2 separate regions of the Homo sapiens genome follow, and region 1 is linked to region 2. The links are contacts of gene promoters, found by promoter capture Hi-C in blood cells and fetal thymus (Javierre and others, 2016). All regions are on one chromosome and are shown on one strand. The core of a region is centred on a gene start or on the middle of the fragment in contact, and the rest is flanking DNA. Distances in the headings are between cores, read along the strand shown.

Region 1 (6,104 bases), core at 251-2,750, 630 kb after region 2:
TCAGTGCAGACTGTATAAAATCAAAAGGCATCTGGTTAGCAGCTGAAATTCACTTATCAGGAATTCCAGCCTCCAAAGTATTTTAGTAAGAACTTCAAAGATGCTTACCAAAAACACCAGAGGGTTTCTTAGCATAAAGAATATTAGAAATCATTTTTCTCTGGTGAAATAAATGGAAATAAGTAAAATTCAGGATATATCATGGGTTAGAAAGATACTTGGGGCCGCACTAACCTTTCTTAAAACAGGAGAATAAAATCAGCAATCCCAGTGTCTTAATATCTTGGGACAATCCAGGGCTGTATTTGGTCCTATGTCCCTTTCACACTGCAGAAGACTATCAATTTACCCAAATAAGAAGTTCACATCTACTCACCAGAATGGTGTTGCATTGGCTCACAGGAAGCCTCTCATTCAAGATGCTTAGAGAAATGCCAAAAGTCGGAGAATAAGGCACTTTCTGGGCTTACAAGAATAGGTAGGTAGTATAACTGTTTTAATGTATCTTTACTCATTAAAAATGGGAAGGTTTGGTAGAATTTGGTTTAAGGCTATCTTCAATACAAAATGCCACCTGGTAAGAAAGTTGTTGAGAGAGGGCAGAGCAAAATGGCGGAATAGAAAGATCTACCAATCATGCCCTTCACAAGGACACCAAGTTAACAATTATCTATACAGAAAAAACACCTATTCATAAGAACCAAAAATCAAGTAAGCACTCATAGTACCTCCTTTTAACTTTATATCACTGAAAGAAGCACTGAAGAGACTAAAAACAGTCCTGAATCACCGTTGTGACCCCTTCCTCACTCCCTGCCTTGGTGGCATGGTATGGAGGGATTCTCTGGGTGCTGGGGGAGGGAGAATACAGCAATTGTGATGCACTGAACTCACTGCTGTCCTGTCAGAGCAGAAAGGAAAACCAGACCAAACTCAGCTGACACCCACCCACAGAGGGAACATTTAAGCCAGGCTTAGCCAGAGGGGAATCACCAATCCCAGAAGTCTGAGCTTGAGTGCCTCCAAACCTTGCCTCCAAGGGCTATAGCACTCTGTCTCCAAGTAAACTTGAAAGGCAATCTAGGCCATAAGGACTACAACTCTTAGGCGAGTCCTAGGGCTGAACTAAGCCCAGAGATAGTGGACACCAGCTGTGGCAGCCAAGGGAGTGCTCGCATCATACCTCCTCTAACCCCAGGCTACAACTCACAACTCCAAAAGAGACCCCTTCCTTCCACTTAAGGAGAGGAGTGGGAAGAGTAGGAAGGATGTTGTCTTACATCTATGATACCAGCTCAGCCACAGCAAAATAGGATACCAGTCAGAGTCATGAGGCCCCCATTCGAGGGCCTAGCTCACAGATGACATTTCTAGACACACCCTGGGCCAGAAGGGAACCCACTGCCTTGAAGGAAAGGACCCAGTCCTGCCAGCATTCATCACCTGCTAACCAAAGAGCCCTTGGACCTTAAATAACCAGTAGTAATACACAGGTACTACGTAGAAGGCCTTGGGTGAGCCTCTGAGACTTGTTGGCTTCAGGTGAGACTCAGTACATAGCCAGCTGCTGTGGCTATGGGACAAAACTTCTGCTTGAGAAAAGCAGAAGGAAAAGTAAAAGGGACTTTGTATTGCACCATAGGTACCACCATCACCACAGGGGACTAGAGCACCAAGAGGGTTCTTGGGATCCCTGATTCCAGGATGTGACTCTTGGATGGCATTTCTGGACCTAACCTGGGCCAGAGAGGAACCCACTGCCCTGAAGGGTGAGTCCCAGGCCAGGTAGCCTTCATGACAAGCTGACTTTAGAGACTGTGGGCCTTAAGGGAAGATGAGTGTTAGTCTGGCAGTACTCACCATGGCCTCGGTTGGTAGTAGCTACAGGGTGAGGCTCCTCTGCTTCCATCTTGTGGCATAAGTGACAGCTTAGCCACACTGCAATAGAATATCAGGTAGATGAAGGCTTTTGACTCTAGTACCCCACTCCCAAACAGAACTTCTGGGCCCACCTAGGGCTTGGGGGACCTCTCCCTAAAGGGAAGGACATAGGCCTGGATGGATTTGCCACCTGCTAATTATAGAACCCTAGGCCCTTCAGCGAACATAGGCAGTAGCCAGGGACTGGTTACAGCAGGCCTTGGGTCAGGGACTGGTTACAGCAGGCCTTTCTGAGACACAGTGCTGTGCTGGCTTCAGGTCTGACCCAGTGCAGTCATAGTGGTGGTGGCCACAGGGGTGCTTGTGTCACTCAGCTTTAGGTGACTGATAACAAAGAAAGAGACTATATTTTTAGGAGAAAGTAAGAGAAAAGAACAAGGGTCTCTGACTGGTAATCCAGAGAACTCCCCCAGATCTTGTCCAAGACCATCAAGGCAGTACCTCTGTAAGTCTAAGTCTGCAAGAATCACAGCATTATTTGACTTGGGATGCCGCCAAAAGCAGATACATCTTAAATCACAGCACCCAAGTCCTGTCAAATATCTAGAAAGCCTTCCCAGGGAGGACAGCTACAAATAAGCTCAGACAGCAAAGGCTAAACTAAACACCTAACCCTTTCAATGCCCAGACACTGAAGAACATCTACTAGCATCAACACTATCCAAGAAAACATGACCTCACCAAATGAAGTAAATAAGGCACCAGGGACCAATCCAGGAGAAACAGATATGTGACCTAGACAGGGAATTTAAAATAGCTCTATTAAGGAAACTCAAAGAAATTCAAAATAACACAAGGAAGGAGTTCAGAATTCTACCTGATAAATTTAACAAAGAGATTGAAATAATTTAAAAGAATCAAACAAATTCTGGAGCTGAAAAACACAATGGACATAGTGAAGAATGCAACAGTCTTTCAATAGCAGAATTGATCAAACAGAAGAAAGAATTAATGAGCTTGAAGACAGGCTGTTTGAAAATACAGTCAGAGAAGACAAAAGAAAAAAGAATAGAAAATAATAAAGCAACCTACAGAAACTAGAAAATAGCCACAAAAGAGCAAATCTGACTGGATCTGGGAAGATGGCTGGCTGAATAGGAACAGCTCCGGTCTGCAGATCCCAGCGAGATCAACACAGAAGGCTGGTGATTTCTGCATTTCCAACTGAGGTACCCGGTTCATCTCATTGGGACTGGTTAGACCATGGGTACAGCACACGGAAGGTGAGCAGAAGCAGGATGGGGCATCACCTCACCCAGGAAGTGTTTAACAGGCCGGGAAACTCTCTCCCCTAGCCAAGGGAAGCCATGAGGGACTGTGCCATCCAGCCCAGATACTATGATTTTCCCACAGTTTTTGCAATCTGCAGACCAGGAGATTCCCTCACGTGCTGACATTACCCAGGCCCTGGGTTTCAAGTACAAAACAAGGTGGCTGTTTGGGCAGACACTGAGCTAGCTGCAGGAGTTTTTTTCATATCCCAGTGCCACCTGGAACCCCAGTGAGACAGAACCGTTCACTTCCCTGGAAAGGGGGCTGAAGCCAGGGGGCCAAGTGGTCTTGCTCAGTGGGTCCCACTCCCAAGGAGCCCAGCAAGTGAAGAACCGCTGGCTTGAAACTCTTGCTGCCAGCACAGCAGTCTGAAGTCGACCTGGAACAATAGAGCTTGGTGTAGGGGAGGGGTGTCCACATTACTGAGCTTTAAGTAGGTGGTTTTCCCCTCACAGTATTAAGGGAGCTGTTGGAAAGTTTGGACTGGGCAGAACTCACTGCAGTGCAACAAAATGGCTGTGGCCAGACTGCCTCTCTAGATTCCTTCTCACTGGGAAGGGCATCCCTGAAAGGCAGCAGCCCCAGTCAGGGGCTTACAGATAAAACTCCCATCTCCCAGAGCACCTGGAGGAAGACAAAACTGTGGGTGTAGCTTCAGCAAACTTAAACATTCCTGCCTGCTGGCTCTGAAGAGAGCAGCAGATCTCCCAGCACAGCGCTCGAGCTCAGCTAAGGGACGCACTGCCTCCTCAAGTGGGTCCCTGACCCCTGTGCCTCCTGAGTGGGAGACACCTCCCAGAAAAGGTTGACAGACACCTCATACAGGAGAGCTCTGGCTAGCGTCAGGCAGGTACCCCTCTGAGACCAAGCTTTCATAGGAAAGAGCAGGTAGCAATCTTTGCTGTTCTGCAGCCTCCTCTGGTGATACCCAGGCAAACAGGGTCTGGAGTGGACTTCCACTCAAACTCCAGGAGACCTGCAGAAGATGGGCCTGACTGTTAGAAGGAAAACAAACAAACAGAAATCAATAACATCAACATCAACAAAAAAGACAGCCACAGAAAAACCCCATCCAAAGGCCATAAGCATGAAAGATCAAAGGTAGATAAATCCACAAAGATGAGGGAAAACCAGCAGGAAAATGCTGAAAATTCCAAAAACCAGAACGCCTCTTCTCCAAATGATCACAACTCCACTCCAGCAAAGGCAAAAAACTGGACAGAGAATGAGTTTGATAAATTGACAGAAGTAGGCTTCAGAAGGTGGGTAATAATAAACTCCTCCTAGCTAAAAGAGCATGCTCTAACCCAATGCAAGGAAGCTAAGAACCTGGAAAAAAGGTTACAGGAAATGCTAACTAGAATAACCAGTTTAGAAAAGAACATAAATGACCTGATGGAGCTGAAAAACACAGCACAAGAACTTCATGAAGCATACACAAGTATGAATAGCCAAATCGATCAAGCAGAAAAAAGGATATCAGAGATTGAAGATCAACTTAATGATATAAAGTGAGAAGACAAGATTAGAGAAACAAGAATGAAAGGGAATGAACAAGGCCTCCAAGAAATATGGGACTATGTGAAAAGACCAAATCTACGTTTCATTGGTATACCTGACAGTGATGGGGAGAATGAAACCAAGTTCGAAAACACTCATCAGGATATTATCCAGGAGAACTTCCCCAACCTAGCAAGATAGGCCAACATTCAAATTCAGGAAATACAGAAAACACCACAAAGATACTCCTCGAGAAGAGGAACCCCAAGTTTCACCAAGGTTGAAATGAAGGAAAAAATGTTAAGGGCAGCCAGAGAGAAAGGTCAAGTTACCCACAAAGGGAAGCCCATCAGACTAACAGTGGATCTCTCTGCAGAAACCCTACAAGTCAGAAGAGAGTGAAGGCTAATATTCAACATTCTTAAAGAAAAGAATTTTCAACACAGAATTTCATATCCAGTGGAACTAAGCTTCATAAGTGAAGGAGAAATAAAATCATTACAGAGAAGAAAATACCGAGAGATTATGCCACCACCAGGCCTGCCTTACAAGAGCTCCTAAAGGAAGCACTAAATATGGAAAGGAAAAAGCAGCCACTGCAAAAACACACCAAAATATAAAGACCAATGGCACTAAGAAGAAACTGCATCAACTAATGTACAAAATAACCAGCTAGCATCATGATGACAGCATTAAATTCACACATCACAATATTAACTTTAAATGTAAATGGGCTTAATGAGCCAATTAGAAGGCACAGACTGGCAAATTGGATAAAGAGTCAAGACCCATCGGTGGGCTGTATCCAGGAGATGCAGCTCACATGCAAAGACACAATAGGTCAAAATAAAGGGATGGAGAAATATTTAATAAGCAAATGGAGAATATGGCTGAATAGGAACAGCTCCAGTCTACAGCTCCCAGTGTGAGCGACGCAGAAGATGGGTGACTTCTACATTTCCAACTGAGGTACTGGGTTCATCTCACTGGGGCTTGTCAGACAGTGGGTGCAGGACAGTCGATGCAGCCCACCGAGTGTGAGCTGAAGCTGGGCAAGGCATTGCCTAACCTGGGAAGTACAAGGGGTCAGGGAATTCCCTTTTCTAGCCAAGGGAAGCTGTGACAGACGGCACCTGGAAAATCAGGTCACTCCCACCCTAATACTGTGCTTTTCCAATGATCTTAGCAAACGACACACCAGGAGATTATATCCCGTGCCTGGCTCAGAGGGTCCCACGCCCACGGATCCTCGCTCATTGCTAGCACAGCAGTCTGAGATCGAACTATAAGGTGGCAGCGAGGCTGGGGGAGGGGTGCCCACCATTGCTGAGGCTTGAGTAGGTAAACAAAGCAGCCAGGAAGATTAAACTGGGTAGAGGCCACCACAGCTC
Region 2 (5,981 bases), core at 2,078-4,577:
GTGTTGAAAGGTCAGAGCAGTAAAGGATGAATAAGAAATACATTTGGCCTGTACAGTGCAATGATATTGCACGTGTGAACTCCATTTACCACCCCAAAGACTTAGCATAGGCTTAAGCTCCTTTGATCTACAGAGGAAATGCTCTCCACTGTAGAATAGCTGATCTTTTTACACTGGTTCAAGGGGTCCTCTGTAACCTCTATAAGCACTAAATTTCCTCATTGGCGCTGTAAAACCACAATAAATCATCCTTGGTGTTATTTGTATGTAAACTTTCTTAGCATTATTATTTTTAATGAGAAGCCATGAATCTTCACTATAAGGCCTTTTGTAAATAGTCAAGCAGAGGTTGCAGGACATTGCAATGTTTGCTTGTTCAAAAGTGGATTTGGTGACAATTTCTCCCATCTCGCTATGCCAGATTCTGTCATATACCAGTTCTGCTCAATTAATTCAGAAAGGTAACAGCTGTTTCTGCCCTTGTTAAAGTCAAGAAAGCTAGGTGCGTTTGAACTAAATATCTGTGAACTGAGACCAGATATTTGCTTCCAGCCTACTGAGCCATTAAATCAGAATTCAAGGAAATGGAGATTTTACTTCCTTCCTCCTTCATCATGGCATGGAAGGGTTCCCTAAAAGGCAGGATCCATGGGGGACTGGGCCTGCAACAGTCAGAGTAGCAGGTCTGAATCACTGCTTTGCCACTGTCTAGCTGGTCTCGGTTTCCTCATCTCCTGTGTGTGAGGTAATATTCACCAAACAAGGTTGTTTTGAGATTAAGAAAGAAGGGTATGTTCAAGAATTTATTCCTCCAAAAATGCCTGGTCATGTGTGAGATGTTCAATGTTAGCAGAACCCGAGATGAATCTCTGGAAAGATTAATAGTACTAGCTACTTTCAGTGCTAGCCTCCCCAGTTCCATTCCCAGGGCATAGGCAGTGCCCAACTTTAAGTTCATGTAAAAAGACCTGAACGGACTCAGTGTTTTCTTCCAGAGAAAAAGAAGCCAGTAGAATCCCAACGAGCCTTTAGAATGGAAATCTTCCGCAGATAACAGTCACTCAAGCAACAAAATCTGGCTGGCTTCCCTTACTTCCTTAGTTCCAGGGGCAGGAGGGAATACAAACCGTGCCCCTTGCCCTAGTCTCAGTTCTCCACAGGGCTGGCTTCTCTGGAATATGTCCTCCCTCTGGGCGGGCAAAGAGCAAGATCTTGTGCTCTTGCTCCTCTGAACACTCCCCGCACTCCCCAGCTCCTTCTAAACGCGGCGACAGCAGCTCTGCCTCCTCTCCAGGTGCCGCATCCCCCAGGCGGCGGGGAGGAGGGGCGGGGGGTGTCCCCGGGTTCCTGGGCGTGGAACGCAATGGCCTCAGAAACTGTCCGTACTCTCCCACTCCGCCGGCACCAGCCAGCACCTCCCTCTCCCTTCCCCCTGGCAGAGCACGCAGGGTGCGTGCACCCCGGGCAGTCCCCAAAGCGCGCCTGCTGGAAAGGCGCCATCCATCATCCTCACCTCCCATTCCAGCGGATTCTCGCCTGAGCCCAGCCAGGGCCCGCCCCTCCGGCCAACCCCAAAGATGCTTGCGGTGTGTATGTGGAGGGGGGTACTTTCTGGGACCCACTTTCATAGCCCTCTCTACCCCCATTTCTCGCAGGGGTGTCGGGGGAAGAGAACCAGAAAGCCAAGACCACTGAACCCGGAGTACTTCCAAATCTGTTACGCTTCCAATCATCCTCATAGCATCACCTTAGTTTATGGGCATTTCTCCCTAGCAGGAGAGCTCTGCCAAAAGCCCGAGAGCGGCACCCCACAAAAACCCCGCGCCCCTGCTGCCTGCCCAACTCTCGCCCCACGGCGCAACCTCCCGGCCCGGCACCTTCCGTCCCGGGGTAAGACTCCTCGTTTTCCCGGAGCGGAACCCAGCCAGCCGGTTTCGGAAGTTTCCCACCTCCCCACTACAACTCCCTTCCGGGAGCCCCCACGCGGACCTCGCTTAAGGCGAGAAAGCCTAGAGGTCTCCCCTAAATCTGCACTCACACCGGGGCCGGCCCCCTCTTCCCTCCCCCTCCTTTCTCCTCCCTTCCAGCTCCAGTCCCCGCGCCTCCGGAGTCTCCAGCGCCAGAGGTTCTCTCGCCCAAGAGGAAACTTCTTTCTGGGCTAAATTCAGGTCCGAGCAGGAAAGGCTTTCCCTTCCCCGCAGGCATCAGAGGCGCGCTCACCCCCTATCCCCCAAAAGACCTAATTTCCCCCTCTCCCCACGATCACCCTCTCTGAGACTGCCTCAGATTACTAGTGCTACTCGACTTTTCAGGTCAAAAGGTCCAGCCGTCTCTGAAGCCACCACGGGGGCACTCTGGATTTTTCCCGAGACCCTACCAGTCCCGCGTGGCTTGGAAAAGACAAGTAAACAAAACACGGACCCGGCAACTCTGGGGTGTGTGTGTGTGTGTGTGTGTGTGTGTGTGTGCGTACGCGCGCGCGCGCAGGAGACAGAGCATCGCCCAAGAGTTAGGGCAACAGCTGCTAGAGCACATCTGGAAGAGGGGGAGGGGGTTCCACGCAGAGGGGACAAGAAGCCCCCAGTGGCTTCAGGGCCGAGGGCTGGGCTAGCCTGTAGTTCGTTACCTGTCCTATGTTGATGAATCCGTACTTGCTGGCGATACGGTTGGCCTCCGGGAAGCCCCCGGCGATTTTGACTGCCCAGTGGTTGGTGTAGACGCGCGTCCGACACACGGGGAGCAGGCAGCCCCCGAGCAGCGCCAGCACGCACAGCAGGTCCAAACGTCCCGGGCAGCAGCAGCGGCTCCCCCAGCCCATGGTCCCGGCGCCTCGCTGCTCCCTCGCTCGCTGGCTGGTTCCGCGCACTAAGGGCGCGCACAACTAACTTCTCCGGCCTGCGCCGCCCGGCGAGCAGCCCCGGGCCGCCGCAGCTCGCAGCCCCGGGCGATCGGCAGGAGGCGGCTAGCCCCGGCAGGGAGCAGAGCAGCGAGCCTTACGCCGGCTCCTAGACCATCCCTGGGGCTGCCGGGACCTGTGCTCCCAGCTCTCCGGCCCGTGGGGCGCTCGGCGATGCTCCCCGGCTCGGACGCAGGAGGAGGCTGAGTGGGGCGGGCGTCCTCCGCAGTTGGGTTTCGCCCGGCTTGGCTCCCGGACTCTCCGACTCGGTCTCGCTCCTCCCGGGGCCCCCGAGCGCGGCGGAGATGACCAGCGGGAGCGGTACAGGCAGCGACCGGGCGCCCCCTCTGCTGGCCCGGGCTCCAAACGCTCGCTTGCTCGCTCCCAGCGCTCCCTCCGGCTCCGAGCAGCGCGCGAGGATTCTGAGTGGCAATGGCAGCAGCTCCTGCTCTGCATAAATGACTTCCCCCGCCCCCCTTAACACCCCTCCTTTCCCACATCGCCCTCCTCCTCTCCCTCCTCCGCCCTCTTGAAAGCGGCCGCAGCCAGGCGCTGACGAGGTCCTAGCGCCTCCGGGTTCGCCCAGCTGTAACCTCCAGGGTTCCGGGCAGTAAAGGCAAGTCTTTCCAAAGGACTGAGAAGAGCGCTCCGAGATCGTGGTTTTACTCCCTTCTCTTCCCTCCCTGCTGGATTTGTATGAATTTACCGCCACTTCCCGAAAGACTAAAGAAATTTACACGCCGGTGCGAATTAACCGCCCTGAAGATTCATTCATCCTCGTTCTAAACGTCCTTAAATAACTAGGCATTTAAGGAGGTCACTTACGTGTCAATTGCCGAACAAATAACTCGAGATTTTCACTTCGTTAATTCTTCATGCTTTTCAGCAGCTGTTTATTTTACACTTTCTGCTCCCGGGAGAAGCTACCACACAGGACAGTAAGTCGCATCGACTCCTAGAATTGGCTCGAAAGCCAAGTCTGTTGCCTGCTCACTTTCGAAATCTGCGATACTAGGCAACGCCACGGGAGAGTACAATTCCGGCCTTGGAAGTGAGGAAAGATGTTTCTATGAATATTTGGTGTGCTAGTGGATGGACATGTTGGGCCAAGGAAATAACTCCATTCATTTGTTGGATTGCGTCTGACGAGGGCTTCTTTTTCTCCACCAAGGGAAAAGTTTCCCAACTTTTCCAAGCACAGTCCTGTAACAGTGAAAGACTTTAATATGAAAAAGACCACAGAGGAAGTTCAGATGAGATATGTGGCGGCGTCACCTTCATTACTCTATCATGCACTGTGACTGCAGCAGGCAGGAGGGAGCTCAAATTAACCCTCTTCTCGCTTCTCCTTTACAACCTCCCTGCCTTCCTGGAGCGGGGGTGGGGCACAGGGTGATTTACTGTGACAAGAAAAATTATCCCGTATGAAATAATTCAACTGACTTTAAAAGTATTCACTATATCCCTAACTGTCCTCCTTTCTCTCCTCCTACCATGCCCTATTTCTTTCTTCCTGTTAATTTAAATGTGTTTGAGATTAATTAACTCATCCCACCTATAGCTTTTGGTACTGATTTTTTAAAATCTGAAAGATACCTGCAGACTTAAAATTCCACTAGTACCTTTGAGCATAGCATTTGACATTTTACATATTGTATAAGGTATGCTATATTATTTAATCTTGAAAACAAACCCACAAAATAACATCATCCCCACATTATAGCTGAAGAAATAGAAGATCAGAAGAACTAAAACATGTGCAGAAGTGTATGTATTTTATTCGTTTATTTATTTGACTGATTCAACACATCTGTTTTGAGCACCTAGCATGTGCAATGAATTGTGCTGTACACTGGAGAAAGGGGAAGGGGGAGGCACAAAAAATTAGTGGAATTCAGAATCTCTGAATACTGTAGAGTAAATGTGGTTTATTATTGAAGGTATGTATGTATGTATGTATGTATGTATGTATGTATGTATGTATGTATGTATTTTTGAGACAGAGTCTCGCTCTGTCGCCCAGGCTGGAGTGCAGTGGTGTGATCTTGGCTCACTGCAGCCTTCGCCTCCCGGATTCAAGCGATTCTCCTGCCTCAGCCTCCCCGAGTAGCTGGGATTACAGGCTGGCTAATTTTTGTATTTTTAGTAGAGACAGGGTTGGCTGGTCTCGAACTCCTGATCTCAAATGCTCTGCCTGCCTTGGCCTCGCAAAGTGCTGGGATTACAGGCATGATCCACCATGCCCGTCCTATTATTATTATTATTATTATTATTATTTATTTATTTATTTTTTTGAGACGGAGTGTCGCTCTGTTGCCCAGGCTGGAGTGCAGTGGCGCGATCTCGGCTCACCGCAAGCTCCGCCTCCCGGGTTCACGCCATTCTCCTGCCTCAGCCTCCCGAGCAGCTGGGACTACAGGCGCCCGCCACCAGGCCTGGCTAATTTTTTTGTATTTTCAGTAGAGACGGGGTTTCACTGTGTTAGCCAGGATGGTCTCGATCTCCTGACCTTGTGATCCGCCCGCCTCGGCCTCCCAAAGTTCTAGGATTACAGGCGTGAGCCACCGCTCCCGGCCCTATTATTATTATTTTTAAGAGGAAAACATAAGCACTATGCTTGTGCTTTAGAGTTTTGGTACAGTCTCCCTGCTAGCCAGTCCCTGTAGACACATCTCTTCCTGCTTCCCTAGCCATGGAGTCCGAAAGCTCACAATCTATTACAACACTGTTAACTCTGACAATCTGCATCTATGCATAGGGACATTGGATTACCCCTCTTGAAGATGGTAAATTTCAGATGGGATAAGACTTCAGTCAAGGTCCACATCTCAATACACATATAAGGGACAGTCAATCTCTCTTTTTTTTTTTTTAATTCAGAATTGTGGGCATTTCAGGTAGGAGGAAGGACCTGTCTCACCGTGATCCACAGAAGGGTTGCCACTACATAAGGTACTTTGTAACAAGTTTGAAGGATGCCGTACGGGTTTCTCTCTGGGACTCTGGAGCTGTTAATTGTTTAGGACTACAAAGGCAGCACAAAATGCTTCTCTTTCAAAGCCTTGTTGTCTCTGGGCTTCAAATT

Evidence for each region. Contacts are between HindIII fragments. The CHiCAGO score rates a contact against its expected background, and 5 or more counts as called.
Region 1: a contact is called between a fragment that was not itself captured here and the fragment with the promoter of PCSK5 in region 2, in 1 of 17 cell types (M1 macrophages). The highest score is 5.8, in M1 macrophages.

The regions. Positions count from the first base shown.
Region 1 is chr9:75,259,313-75,265,416 of GRCh38, reverse strand. No RefSeq gene overlaps it. Among named protein-coding and RNA genes, the nearest start is that of OSTF1, 170 kb to the right of the region's middle. The HindIII fragment of the contact is 5,169 bases long and covers 1-4,084 here.
Region 2 is chr9:75,888,019-75,893,999 of GRCh38, reverse strand. It overlaps PCSK5 (proprotein convertase subtilisin/kexin type 5), which reads right to left and starts at 3,327. Exons shown (of 38, transcript NM_001372043.1): 1 at 2,627-3,327. The coding sequence starts at 2,818. The HindIII fragment of the contact is 12,342 bases long and covers 1-5,981 here.